3 separate regions of the Homo sapiens genome follow, and regions 1 and 3 are each linked to region 2. Evidence: promoter capture Hi-C in 16 types of primary human blood cells and fetal thymus (Javierre and others, 2016). All regions are on one chromosome and are shown on one strand. The core of a region is centred on a gene start or on the middle of the fragment in contact, and the rest is flanking DNA. Distances in the headings are between cores, read along the strand shown.

Region 1 (4,482 bases), core at 1,741-4,240, 550 kb after region 2:
GCTGAACTACCATCAATGGTCAATAGACTAATTATATGTTACGTACAATATACTGAAGTTTTTCTTCCAGCATCTATGCCGTTACAGAATTATTCATTTGCCTAAACTTCAGGAAAAAAGTACTTGCAATTTTTTGCCAGCTAAAAAAAATCAGCAAGTTAAAAATCAAGACATTTTCAATTAATTTCCTTCAGTTTCACTAAACATCTCCAGGTAGCTAAAAAGGATGTTCTATGTTTTATGTATCCAGTAACTTTAATTGCTATGAGAGCAGCTTACCTACGTGCCCAATGAATACTACATTTACATGCTCTTTCTTAGGAGCACCTGGCGGTGCAACCACAGACTTAGGTTTTGGGATTTCCTCTTCCTCCTCCATCATTTCATGGGCACTTTCCTCTGGCGGCCTTCCATCTCCCAAGGAACCACCCCCTGGCTCTGCTTCACTTATTTCTTCTTTGTGCTCCCATGATTCTTCTGGAGACATTTCTGTCTCTCCATTTTCTACTGAAGAAAGACATTTTAACTTAGTATTCTGAAAAAGACTTACAATCTATACTTTAAAATACACTAGCTTTAAAACAACAAATGGAAGTTTGCATATGTAGTTCCATTTCCTAATGCCTAGTGACACATAAGCAGGAAAACCTCTTTCATAGCAGAAATGGGTGACAGCTTTCAAGGCAGACTCACTGCTGGTATCACATCAGAGGGCACTGACTCACAGGCTGAGATTGCTATTTTAGCAAAGCTTCATTTTCATAATGGCAAACAAAATGCAAACAAGAGTTCTAACATTCCCAACAGCCTAGTTATTCCAGTGTTGAGACACCCTGATAGTAAGAAAAAAAGGAAAGTTTAAAATCGTGACACACGAGAAATATGAAAGGATTTAGGAAATATTTTCTTTTTCCTCTTAAACTAATAAAACTTTGGCATCAACTTTAATCACGCTGAGAACGTGAAACCCTTAAGAATAAAGTTATAAAAAGGAAGAACATTTTTCACCAAGAAAACAGAACGTGTGGCCGAGCATGGTGGCTCACACCTGTAATCCCAGCACTTTCGGAGGCCGAGGTGGGTGGATCACGAGGTCAGGAGTTCGAGACCATCCTGATCAACATGGTGAAACCCCGCCTCTACTAAAAATACAAAAATTTGCCAGTTGTGGTGGTGTGCGCCTGTAATCCCAGCTACTCAAGAAGCTGAGGCAGGAGAAGCGCTTGAACCTGGGAGGCGGAGGTTGCAGTGACCCAAGATTGCACCACTACACTCCAGCCTGGGCGACAGAGCAAGACTCCGTCTCAAAAAAAGAAAACAGAACAGGTACAGGTATTTAAATTGACTTGACCATTCCTCCACTCAATTTTATTTGCAATCATTAAGTTTATCAAGGCAGTGTTAGTGCCTAGTTTGTTCTACTTTCTAAATACTAATAGCAAAGACTCAATGTGTCTTAAATGTAGGCATTACAATAATCGTAACTTACATAATGCACCTTAAATCTTGAGAGTGAAAGAGTTTCATATTACTGTATTAATATGGTCAGAAATTTTCTTACCAATAGGTTCTGAAAGTTCCATGCTAACAGCTGAATTTGAACCTAGACAAGAGATTGAAATATAATATATATTTACCAAACAGTATCTAGCTTTACACACCATATAGACAACCTAATGTTTTCTCAAGTAGACTTTCAAAGAGTACATCATTACCTTCACACAATGACTGTTCCTCTTGAGAGGATTCCACAGGTGCTGTTTAACAGAAAGAAGTTCTATTAAAAATTGATACTTATCCATCCATTTCACTTATCTTTTAATATGCAGTAAAAACAGAAGTTCAATAACACGACACAAGCCTCAATCAATAACCCCAGATCAATGGCAGCTAACTCAGGCCTTCAAGTTAGAAGTCTCTGCTTAACCTACTTTTCAAAATTCTACTAATTACAGCCAATTTTGAAACATTTTCAGTAGTTTCAATGTATTCATAAAAACATGCTTATTCTTTTGATTTGCTTTATAAACCTTTTCTTCACAGATACTGTCAAAGTAATTTGCAGCTCAGCACAGATCAAATTAGAGATGTGCTCAACAAATACACATCTACTTCCCGTGATTCTCTCTAGGTAACCCAGCCCAAGAAAGCTGTGATTAGCCCTTTTTTTTTTTTTTTTTTTTTGAGACTGAGTTTCACTCTTGTTGCCCAGGCTGGAGTTGGAGTGCAATGGCACGATCTTGGCTTACCGCAACCTCCATCTCCCCGGTTCAAGCGATTCTCCTGCCTCAGCCTCCTGAGTACCTGGGATCACAGGTGCATGCCACCATGCCCGGCTAATTTTGTATTTTTAGTAGAGATGGGGTTTCGCCACGTTGGTCAGGCTGGTTTTGAACTACGACCTCAGGTGTTCTGCCCACCTCGGCCTCCCAAAGTGCTGGGATTACAGGCTTGAGCCACCGCATCCAGCCTGTGATTAGCCCTTTTTAATATTCCATACTCATGTTATCAAAATCCCTGAATAAATTAGATACCTATAAGATAAATGACATGTGTATAAAGTCCTGAAACATATATAAGCCATTAAAAATATCTGCAGAAAAGGTGATTCCAATGATGCCAGTTTTTTCCTATACTAGAACTCTAAAACCAAGCAACAATCCAGTTTCCAGTTGCCACACTGCAAATTTACTTATGACATTACTGGAAGAGATGTAGGAGAAATACATACTAATAACCAAATATCTAAGTCTGCTTTTTGGATTTTAGTTTGTCAGATACAGACAAACCTAAATTATACTCCAATATGAACGTGCCCCTGCTTTAAAGAATCTCCACGACAGAAAACGATACTAAAGAATTAAATCATATGAATCATGCACAGCAAGTATGAAAAAATAATGAATTTGTAACCTGTAAAATCATTGCCCGGAAAGGATCAATACCTGTAAGAGTCAAGAGAAAGTGTTTTGGGCCCAACCTTCAATAGCATCAAATGTTGAGTAAAGTAATTTCCTGTCCCTGATAGGTAAAGGACAACCAAATTGTTTTCTTTTTTTTTTTAAGTGACAGGCTCAGACTGTCACTTAGGAAGATCTTTTTCTTGCAGCTTAAACTACATGAACTAGAGTGGGCAAGACCCCACAGGCAGGAAGACCCACATCACCACTGCAAGAAAGCATGCCATGGAGACAACCAAGCAATACAACTAGGAGGGGATGGGGGCTACACCTGACAGGAGTTGGGAGAAAGGGAGAGTAAAAGGTCTAAGATGACCCCAAGCTGTGGGATGAGCAGGACATTAACAAACAGGGGGGAAACGCATTTGAACCTGGTTTGGAAGGAGGCAGAAACTGTACTTCAACACAATACAGATTAACTTTTTTTTGCTTTTCCATTTTCAAGAAAAGTTTAAGGATAAGGTAAGGAAAAATTACTCAGTTTTCAGAGGAAGCCAGGTAGTACTGAGAGTATCAAGTTCACAGGCCACCCTAAGAAGGAGGTGACTGCATGGGGTACTTCTCAGAGCCTGGAACTGAGCTGACTCCTAGGTTTAACTCCTGGCTTATTACAAGCTGTGCCTGCACTTATTCCACTGAAATTGTGGAAATGATATACCATCTACCTGAGAGGATTGTTGAGGAGTTTATGGGAGGAAATGGGAGAATAATTTGTTTAGTGTCAGTTAAAGAACTCCTGGCGTATTCAACAAATGTGTCTCCATCTGCTATGTAACTACTCCAACTCAATCCTATCAATATGTATTGAGTATCAGCCAGGCACGGTGGCTCACACCTGTAATCCCAACACTTTGGGAGGCGGAAGCGGGGGGATCATTTGAGTTCGGGAGTTCAAGACCAACCCGGCCAACATGGCAAAACCCTGTCTCTACTGAAAATACAAAACAATTAGCTGGGTGTGGCATACACCTGTAATCCCAGCTACTCGGGAGGCCAAGGCAGGAGAATCGCTTGAACCCGGGAGGTGGAGGTTGCAGTGAGCCAAGATCACGTCACTGCACTCCAGCTTGGACAAGAATGAAACTCCGTCTCAAAAAAAAAAAAATTAATAAAAATGAATACATATATATATGTATTGAGTATCTATTATGGGCCAGACAAGGATAAAAGTACTCACAAATCCATATTGTGTAGGGAGTGGGGGATGGAGGGGGTAGCAATTTGCTTTAACTAATTTTTATTGAGCCCTAAGTGCCGACTGCTAGCTCATTCCCACCAAAAGCCTTAGGAAACAGATCCTGTAATCACTACCATCTAACATACAGGCACATCAGAATCAACTGCAGGCATTTCCAAGTTATGCAAGTGCCATCTTCCCCTTCCTCAGATAGTCCCTGCTGAAAATCAGTGTACAAGTAAACTAAGCTCTGACGGACACACAGTTATGATGTACTGCGTATCTTAAGGCAGGAAAATGACGGGTGTGGTGGGCTTCCTCACCACTCTCAAGTGTATCACTAAC
Region 2 (4,887 bases), core at 316-2,815:
TGACTTTAAGGATTGCCTGATTTAGGATCTGTGGACTTTGCTGACTGGGGACATCCAATTTTTAGGGAGAGATTCCTGGGAATTTTATTTGAAGGATGCACAAAAAGATTTAGCTTTTACGGGTGGATCACGAGGTCAGGAGATCGAGACCATCCTGGCTAACACGGTGAAACCTCGTCTCTACTAAAACAAAGTACAAAAAATTAGCTGGGCGTGGTGGCAGGCACCTGTAGTCTCAGCTACTCGGGAGGCTGAGGCAGGAGAATGGCGGGAACCTGGGAGGCGGAGCTTGTAGTGAGCCCAGATGGCGCCACTGCACTCCAGCCTGGGTGACAGAGTGAGACTCCGTCTCAAAAAAATAAATAAATAAATAAATAAAAAAGATTTATCTTTTAAGTAGGTCCACAGTGGATATATTTATAAAGTGAAAAATTGGAAATAGCCTTAATGTCCAACTGTAGGATATTGGTTTAATATGTGATAAGACAAATCGAGTATTATGCAGTCATTCAAGAGGAAGCAGATGGATATTTGCTGATACAGAAAGATGTTCATTATTAAGTGAAAACAATATACAAAACACTATTTGTATATCAGTAATAGGCCAGGCATGGTGGCTCACGCCTGTAATCCCAGCACTTTGGGAGGCCAAGGAGGCAGGATTGCGTGATCCCAGGAGTTCCAGACCACCTTGGGCAACATGGTAAGACCCTGTCTCTACAAAAAATACAAAAATTAGCTGGACGTGGTGGTGCACGCCTGTAGTCCGAGATACTTGGGAGGCTGAGGTAGGAGAATCACCTATGCCCGGGAGGTGAACGTTGTAGTGAGCCGTCACTGTGCCACTGCACTCCATCCTGGGCAACAGAGTGAGACCCTGTCTCAAAAAAAATACACACACATATTTTAAAGCCTAAAGGCTAATATACCCCAAAATTAACAGTGGGTATCTATAAGCGGCTTTTACAATTATTTTCTTGTTCTACATTTTTCCCCTATTTTTTTTACAATAAATGTGCATTTCTTGTCTGAAAAATAGCAATATATTTTATTAACCTTAAAATTATTTGATGCTATTAAAATATAACTGAAAATAATAATAAAAGAAAAGGCAAGTTTGCCAGCTCTCCCCGTCTCCCTCCCCAGCCTTATCTCCTGACTGGATTCTTGCTCACTCCCAATAAACACGGACTCTTAATTCGTTTCAGTATTTACTAACCTCAAAACAAGGCAATGTAAAGATGAATAATCATACTCTGTAGGTGATCTGCATCCACGCCAAATTTTGAGATGCGTTGAAAGAGGAAGTTCTTTACCTCTCTGCCTTCAATTATTTATTCTCGTTTAACCCATTTCCTCCGTTCATTCCTAACTTGAGGGCGTTTATTTACTTTTATCTACGCATGCGCACTCCTGGCTGCTAGAGAGGGCCTCTTCGCCCGGCGGTCCCGCCTTCTGACGTCGACCATTGGCCGGCTCTGCCAGCGCGCTCCTGATTGGTGGCTGAGGGCCGGGCCCCGCTGCTTCTCAAAGTTGGCGGGAAAGCGGAGGCGGGGCGGAAGGGTGCGGCGAGGCGGAATGGCGGCGGCTGCGGACTCGTTCTCAGGCGGCCCCGCGGGGGTGCGGCTTCCGAGGTCGCCGCCACTCAAGGTGCTGGCGGAGCAGCTGCGGCGCGACGCGGAGGGCGGCCCGGGCGCGTGGCGGCTGTCACGGGCGGCGGCGGGCCGCGGGCCGCTGGACCTGGCGGCCGTGTGGATGCAGGGCAGGGTAGTGATGGCGGACCGCGGCGAGGCTCGGCTGAGGGACCCGAGCGGGGACTTCTCGGTCCGCGGCCTGGAGCGGGTGCCGCGCGGGCGGCCCTGTCTAGTCCCAGGTAATGCCCGGGCCTTACCGGGCGCCCTCTTCCCTGCTGCCCGCCGAGAAGTTGCCGAGGCCAGATTCGATCTTGTTGTTGACACTCGAACGGGGGCGGGGCGGGTCTGGCCCTCCTCCGGGCCTCTGCCCCTGCGGGTCCCCGCTTGGGTACCCTTGCTCCGGTCCCTCCTTGGTGAAGTTGATCTGATGATAAGCATCACCTGCCGTCCCTTTTACAAATACAGATTCCTGGGACTCTCCCACCCCTAGTGGGAATCTTCTGGGGAGGGACTCCGGCACCTTCGTTTGTCACAAGCCCCCTCTCCCAGTTGATATCCTTGTTTTGGGAAATACTGTCCTGGGAAACTTCTGCTCATCCTTAACGTCTCAGCTCAAATGTGCCTTTCTCAGGGAAGTCCTCCCTAGCCCCTAGGAACGGGAGACCCTCCTGTACTTCTCCTTAATTGAACTGTCTTGGGCTGTAGCTCACTCATGTTTGCCTCCTCTCTTTTTTTTTTTTTTTTTTTTTTGAGACGGAGTCTCACTCTGTCGCCCAGGATGGGGTGCAGTGGCGCGACCTCAGCTTACTGCAGCCTCCACCTCCCGAATTCAAGCGATTCTCATGCTTCAGCCTCCCGAGTAGCTGGGATTACAGGCATGTGCCACCACACCCGGCTAATTTTTGTATTTTTTAGCAGAGACTGGGTTTTGCCATGTTGGCCAGGCTGGTCTCGAACTCCTGGCCTCAAGTGATCTGCTCATCTCGGCCTCCCAAAGTGCTGGGATTACAGACATGAGCCGCTGCGCCCTGCCTGCTTCCTCTCTTAAACCACTGATGCTCAAACTTGAGCCAGCATCAGTCTCTCCTGGAGGGCTTGGTAAAGCTGGGATGGCTGGGGCTCCACCCTCAGGGTTTGTGAGTCAGGAGGTCCAGGTGGGGCTGGAAATTTGCATTTCTAACCAGCTCCCAGGTGATGCTGATGCTGCTGGTCTGGGGACCATACTTTCGACTTTTTAAATGTTTTATTTATTTGAGATAGGGGACTCACCGTGTTGCCCAGGCTGGCCCTGAGCTCAAGCAATCCTCCTGCGTCAGCCTCCTTGGGTAGCTGGGACTACAGGCCTGTACCACCACGCCTGGTTTGGGGGCCATACTTTGAGAACCACTGGGCCAGCCCAAGCTACTGGAGGGCCAGAGCTGTGTGGTCCTGACAACTGTATCCTCAGCATCTGGCCCAGTTCCTGACACATAAGTGCTCCAAGAACCAATAGTCTTGAGTGATAGGCAATGGGCATCCATCTCACTTGTTCCCTGGGATGTCAGTTGAGCACGTGTTGTACATCAGCCCCTCATGTGCAGTGTTGGGCTGCAGCCGAGACCTAGATAGAGTCTGCTGGGAGACAGGCAGTGAGCAAGTGTCGCAGAGGATCGCTGATCTTTGGGGAGCCATGAGGATGTGCAAGGTGCTGAGTGGCCCGGGGAGGCTTCTAGAGGATGTGAGGTCTAAGCTGAGGAGCTCTGAGGCTCCATGGGCCTTCCCTCACCTCAGCTCCCTCTCCTGGGAAATCAGGCCAAGATCACTTCATTCCTAAGGGCCCTTCCTGCTCAGTCTTGGAGTCTAACTAGAGGCAGATAGGGCTGTGGTCTGGCCTGAGCTGCTGTGGACTCGGAAAGGCTTAGGTCGAATTTCTGGTTCCACCCCTTCCCAACTGAGCTGCCTGGAGCACTCTTGTTAACTTTTCTGGACTTGTACTATTTTGTAAAAAGGAGCTAATCATTCCTGCGTGTTGTGTGGATTCAATAAGTAAACAACTGCCTTAGTACTGCACCTGGCTCACAGTGAGGATGCAAAATATCAGGACTCGTTTACTGCCACATGCTCCTGTTCCGTCTTCCCACTGCCTTACCCATCAGCCTTCCCTCTGTCTGCCTGCCCTCAGCCGCAGCGTTGGTCTAGGACAGGGTCAGCAAACTACAGGCCTCCTCTTTTCATGTGTCCTGCGAACTAAAAATGCTTTTAAAATTTTTATGTATTACTATTATTATTTTTGAGACAGAATCTCGCTCTGTCTCTCAGGCTGGAGTACAGTGACGCAGTCATGGCTTGCTGCAACCTCCACCTCCTGGGTTCAAGCGATTCTCATGCCTCAGCCTCCCGAGTAGCTGGGATTACAGGTGTGCACCACCACACCCGGCTAATTTTTGTAGTTCTAGTAGAGATGGGGTTTCAACATGTTGGCTAGACTGGTTGGTCTGGAGCTCCTGGCCACCTTGGCCTCCCAAAGTGCTGGGACTGCAGGTGTGAGTCATTGCACCTGGCAGGATTTCACATTTTTAAATGGTTGAAAAGAAAATCGTGATATGTGAAAAGTATATGAAATTCAAGCATCAGTGTTCATAAGTTAAGTTTTATTGGAATACATTGGTAATTTACAGAATGTCTCGGGCCGCTGTCCCACCCCAGCTAGAATTTTATCTGGGACAGAGACCCTATGGCGGGAAAAGCCCAAAATATTTGTCTCGCCCTTTACAGAAAAAGTTTGCCAACCCTTGGCCTTAGCCTTGGCCCAGCAAGTAACCCATGCTGCTTGGTGTGTTGGTTTGCAGGCAAAGCACCTTGCAGGCAGGCTGGGGCAGTCTCCTATCTGGTCTCAGCCCTGGCATAAGCCTGGCATCTAGTAAATAAGTGTTTGAACCCATGGGCATTGGTGAACCTGTCTGACATACCCACTGGCCTGAATGCCAGCTGGCAGGGGCCATGTCATTTCTTCTTGTTAATTAATACTGAGTCCAGCTTGACAAAATTGAGTCACTGCCATCAGGGAGGCAGGGAGGTAAGCGGGCCACTAAAACACAAAGTAACATTGCAGGCAAGAGTGAGGTGGCGCAGAGGAGGGACAGCTGATCTAGGTTTGAGGGCTCAGGGAAGGCTTCCTGGAAGAGGCAGCCCTGAAGGATGCATTGGAGTTATCTGTAAGGACCAACCCTCCTGGGTTGCCTGGGACTGAGAGGGTCCTGGGACGTGGGACTTT
Region 3 (4,367 bases), core at 1,584-4,083, 530 kb after region 2:
CAATTACTTAGATGTTTATTTCAATATTTCTTAAATTCACTTTATTAATTTAAAAAACTAAATAATCGCATGAAAGTTATATAAAGAACATCATTAATGTGAAAAGATGCAAGAAAAAAATCATTCTAGTAGAGCAACGTTAGAGAACAAATGCTTAGGTAATACCCTAAATATGCAGCCAACTACCCTATTTTTGCACTGTTGACCATATAAGCACGTTTGCATTTGCAGAAAACAGAATGACAGCATAGGAATTTGTATTGCTCTATAACGGTCCAACATCTCCACATAATGCCAAGTTCACCTTAGACATTTTATTTACTTATCCAAATGAACAGCCTGTGTAAGCAGGATTGAAAATGCATCAACTTTAAAAAGATGAGAACAATTTTCAAAGCCCATAGAACTTATGTTGCTGGTTAATTTTAGCACTGAAATTTCTTTTGAATAATCTAATCTTGCAAATATGCAAGAATCCAGTGGAATTTTTACAGTTACATTTGTATTTGTATGACCTGTTACTTTTTAGAGGTAGGCCCTTCACAGTTGATATCCAAGTTACTTAAGAGTCTTGGCAACATGCACATAATAGTCTAACAGTGTAAATGTTTTAGTAGCAAACATAACTTATTTTTTAAAAATGTGTTCTATTTAGAAAGGGAACTCTTATCTCTGGAAGTGATTTCCGTGGCTCTTGAACTTTTAAATATTCATTAAAATTCAAGCAATTGCTAGTATTTGTTTTTATTAACATGGAATTACAAAAAGAACTATTATGTTTTGATTAAAGCTCCTATATTTTCCAGAAAAATAAAAGCCCAGAGATTTGCAGACATAATAAAATCTATTTAAATTTCATGCAATAGCCATAATTATAGTTTTAAGAATCTGTAGGACAATAACTTTGCTCTGTCCATAAGATGTAGCCTCATTCAAGAAATGAATGGGAATTTCACAGTTAAGAAAACACTAGGCCAAGTGCGGCGCCTCATGCCTGTAATCCCAGCACTTTTGAGAGGCTGAGGCGAGTGGATCACTTGAGGTCAGAAGTTTGAGACCAGCCTGACCAATAGGGGGAAACCTCGTCTCCACTAAAGATACAAAAATTAACTGGGCCTCGTGGAGGGCTCCTGTAATCCCAGCTACTCAAGAGGCTGAGGCAGGAAATTGCTTGAATCCGGGAGGTGGAGGCTGCAGTGAGCTGAGATCGAGCCACTGCACTCCAGCCTAGGTGACAGAGTGAGCCTCTGTCTCAAAACAAAACAAAACACCCATTAGATTAAGTTTTATGTTCTGTGACTGGAAATACAGTCTGTCTAGGCTTTTCTTTTCTGAGGAGCAAAATTATAGGGAAGAGACTTGTCATTAAATATACAAAGTATCTTATTTAGAGAGAAATCACAATCTAAAAGAGGCTATCTTTGATCAATGGCAACACTCAACATCAAGGGGGCTTTGGATAAACCCACAAATTGCCTCCATTCCTCATTTATTCTCATGAAAAATTTCAAAGTCATGATAATTATAGCAGAGAGTCATTCAATCTAAAACCCACACAATGCTGCACTGTGGTTCATCAAAAACATGGTTAGCAAATTTCAGCTTTACACTTAAGAAAACTCAGTCAATTTCAAATAATTGAGATAAAACTTATACCCTGCTTGATTCTGCTTATCGCTGATAATTTTAGTCTGTTCAGATTCTGATGATTCTAAATATTTTCATTTAGTTGCTAGGTTGAGATTTAGCTTTAACCAGCAAGGATCATCCAACCTTTAAAGTTACTGATACAAAGAGTAAACTGAGTAACTTGTAGAAGTGGCACTTGCAACTGATACGGTTTTCATACTAGAGGCATGCAGCTCTATTTATAAATACTACCAGAGGAATTTTTGCCAGGTCTCAAACATGCTTTATTTGTTGTTAATTCCACTAATTTAACAAGTTAATGGAATTTTCTCTAGGGGTACAATTTCATTACGCTTTACTTATAAAAACTACAGTATGCTGTTCTTTTATTTTAAAACAACTTACTGTGTTCAAGAAATCATGTTACAATATAAATTGGCAAAAAAAAAAAAAATAAATAAATAACTAAAAGACCTAGTAAAGCAGTGTCACATTTGCATAAAGGGATTTAACTGCATGTATGCATTAACCATCAAAAGAAGGGGTCAAACTAATCCTTTCCTTTAATACAAACTTGAACGCTGTGAATGTCTCATTTATAGTGGGTAGGGAAAGAGTTTATAAAAGTCCAAGTAATAAAATGTATTCAATTACTTGGGAAAGTTAAAAAGCTAATGCAACAATGTTACATCCAGATAAAAAACATTATTCAAAAGCAATTCAAATACCGAAAAGGATTTCAAATTGAATATTTTATTAACATGGTAGTTGCCTTTGTAACATGTGCACACACACTCGCACACTCAGAATGATCTGCCTGGGGGAAAAATACTAAATATGCCTAAGGGGAAAATGAAAAATAAAAAAATTCCTGTAGGTTTTCATTATTGTAGGCAATTATGTCCACATCACTTACAAAGCTATTGCCAAATCTGTCCAAGGAAGCAGAGTTTGAAGTGAGGGCTAGGGACAGGAATCTTGGGAAAAATTCAACAGTGGCATAGCAGAGCTCTCAATATGAGAAAGCTGACATAATGTGGACTTTTGCTGTGAATTTCCTCTTTGCAAAATATGGGGAGAGGTTTATCAATGGGCAGAAAATAAGAGAAGGCGGTGTGAAGTAGGCTTCTGCAGTCAATTTTCCTCACAGTATTGTGCAGGGTCATCAAGAAAATGCTTAGTCTTTCTCTGGAACCAGTTTCAGAACTTTTCCAATTGCAATGGTCTTACCTAGAAATGAAATTTTAAAAAAATCTTTCAGTAGTTAACAGCAAGTCTATATAAGATATTAAAACTTATTATTTTAAATCACAAAAATATTTTTTACAATGTAAGTTACTAATTAACTAGCTTTACTGCCAAACCCATGATACTTCTATTTAGGTAGTCTTAATAAGAGGGTCTTATTTGGGGGGGCTGGTAAAGAGATGGTTCCCTGTATCAAAAACCTATCTCCCCCCGTACCCCCCAAACAATTCTCCTGCCTCATCCTCCCCAGTAGCTGAGATACAGATGCCTGCCACCACGCCCAGCTAATTTTTGTATTTTTAGTTGAGACGGGATTTCACCATGTTGGCCAGGCTGGTCTTGAACTCCTGACCTCAGGTGATCCACCCGCCTCAGCCTCCCAAAGTGCTGGGATTACAGGCATGAGCCACTGCATAAAGACAGAGTCTTACTCTGTCACCCAGGCTGGAGTGCAGTGGTGCGACTTCAGCTGACTGCAACCTCCTCCTTCTGGGTTCAAGTGATTCTCCTGCCTCAGCCTCCTGAGTAGCTGGGAGTATAGGTGCTTGCCACCATGCCCATTCTAATTTTTATATTTTTAGTAGAGGCAGGGTTTCACCATGTTGGCCAGGCTGGTCTTGAACTCTTGGCCTCAGGTGATCCGCCTGCCTCGGCCTCCCAAAGTGCTGGGATTACAGGGGTGAGCCACCACACTGGGCCAAAAAACCTCTTTGGATTAAAAATAAGAAAAGGGAATATCCGTATTTGTGGAATATCCACCCAGTGGAGTACTATTCAGTGATACAAAGGAATAAATAACATGTTACATGGTTGAACCTCAAAATCACACTAAGTAAAATAAACTAGACAAAGGACCACATAATTTATAATTCTATTTATGGAGTGTCTATAAAAGACAAATTGAAAAATGGTTGCCTGGGGTGGAGGTGGGAATAAGGGGTGATTATGAACAGGTGTAAGGTTTCTTTTTAGGTGTTCTAAATGTTCTAATATTAGTATATGGTGATGGTTGTACAATTCTGTAAACATACTAAAATTCATTGAATTACATACTTAAAACAGGTCAATTTCATATTATGGAAATTGTATCTCAATAAAGCTGCTAAAAAAAAAAATCCCAAAACCTATCCTTAAGTAACTGTGAAAAGGCACAGCAATCACCACTGACTACAGTGCAGTGAACACGTCCTTCTGGTAGTAATCCTGTGGACTGAAAGGATACAAAACCCATTGGGTCTTGTGGAAAACCTAAAAGCCAAGTTAGCTTTTTTTTTTTTTTTTTTTTTTTTTTTTTTAAAGCCAAGTTAGCTTTTAGGAAAAAATAATTCTAGGGTTAAGAATTCCTGCTACATTAATTGCTTTTCTTCTGTCTTCCTGATTTTATCAGGTTCTGAGTGGTAAACTAAAACTATCATTTTGTTATATTAATAAGATAAACCCAATAACCAGTTTTACTATCAACCAGAAGAGTTCTGGGCCTTTAAAGTAAA

What was found. The method cuts DNA at HindIII sites, captures the fragments that hold promoters and counts their contacts. A CHiCAGO score of 5 or more calls a contact.
Region 1: a fragment that was not itself captured here is called in contact with the fragment with the promoter of RMI2 in region 2 in 2 of 17 cell types (neutrophils and activated CD4 T cells); the score reaches 6.1 in neutrophils.
Region 3: a contact is called between a fragment that was not itself captured here and the fragment with the promoter of RMI2 in region 2, in 1 of 17 cell types (neutrophils). The highest score is 7.0, in neutrophils.

What each region holds. Positions count from the first base shown.
Region 1 is chr16:11,896,279-11,900,760 of GRCh38, forward strand. GSPT1 (G1 to S phase transition 1) reads right to left here. Exons shown (of 15, transcript NM_002094.4): 2 at 1,716-1,757; 3 at 1,562-1,603; 4 at 280-507. Among named protein-coding and RNA genes, the nearest start is that of GSPT1, 17 kb to the right of the region's middle. The HindIII fragment of the contact is 4,482 bases long and covers 750-4,482 here.
Region 2 is chr16:11,343,894-11,348,780 of GRCh38, forward strand. RMI2 (RecQ mediated genome instability 2) reads left to right here and starts at 1,566. Exons shown (of 2, transcript NM_152308.3): 1 at 1,566-1,873. The coding sequence starts at 1,579. All of the region lies in intron 1 of LOC105371082 (a long non-coding RNA gene), which reads left to right. It overlaps LOC105371083 (a long non-coding RNA gene), which reads right to left and starts at 1,319. Exons shown (of 2, transcript NR_135174.1): 1 at 1,220-1,319. RefSeq lists silencers at 1,635-1,794, 1,815-1,894. The HindIII fragment of the contact is 15,776 bases long and covers 1-4,887 here.
Region 3 is chr16:11,870,313-11,874,679 of GRCh38, forward strand. GSPT1 (G1 to S phase transition 1) reads right to left here. Exons shown (of 15, transcript NM_002094.4): 15 at 1-2,859. The coding sequence ends at 2,807. Among named protein-coding and RNA genes, the nearest start is that of RSL1D1, 21 kb to the left of the region's middle. The HindIII fragment of the contact is 9,746 bases long and covers 1-4,367 here.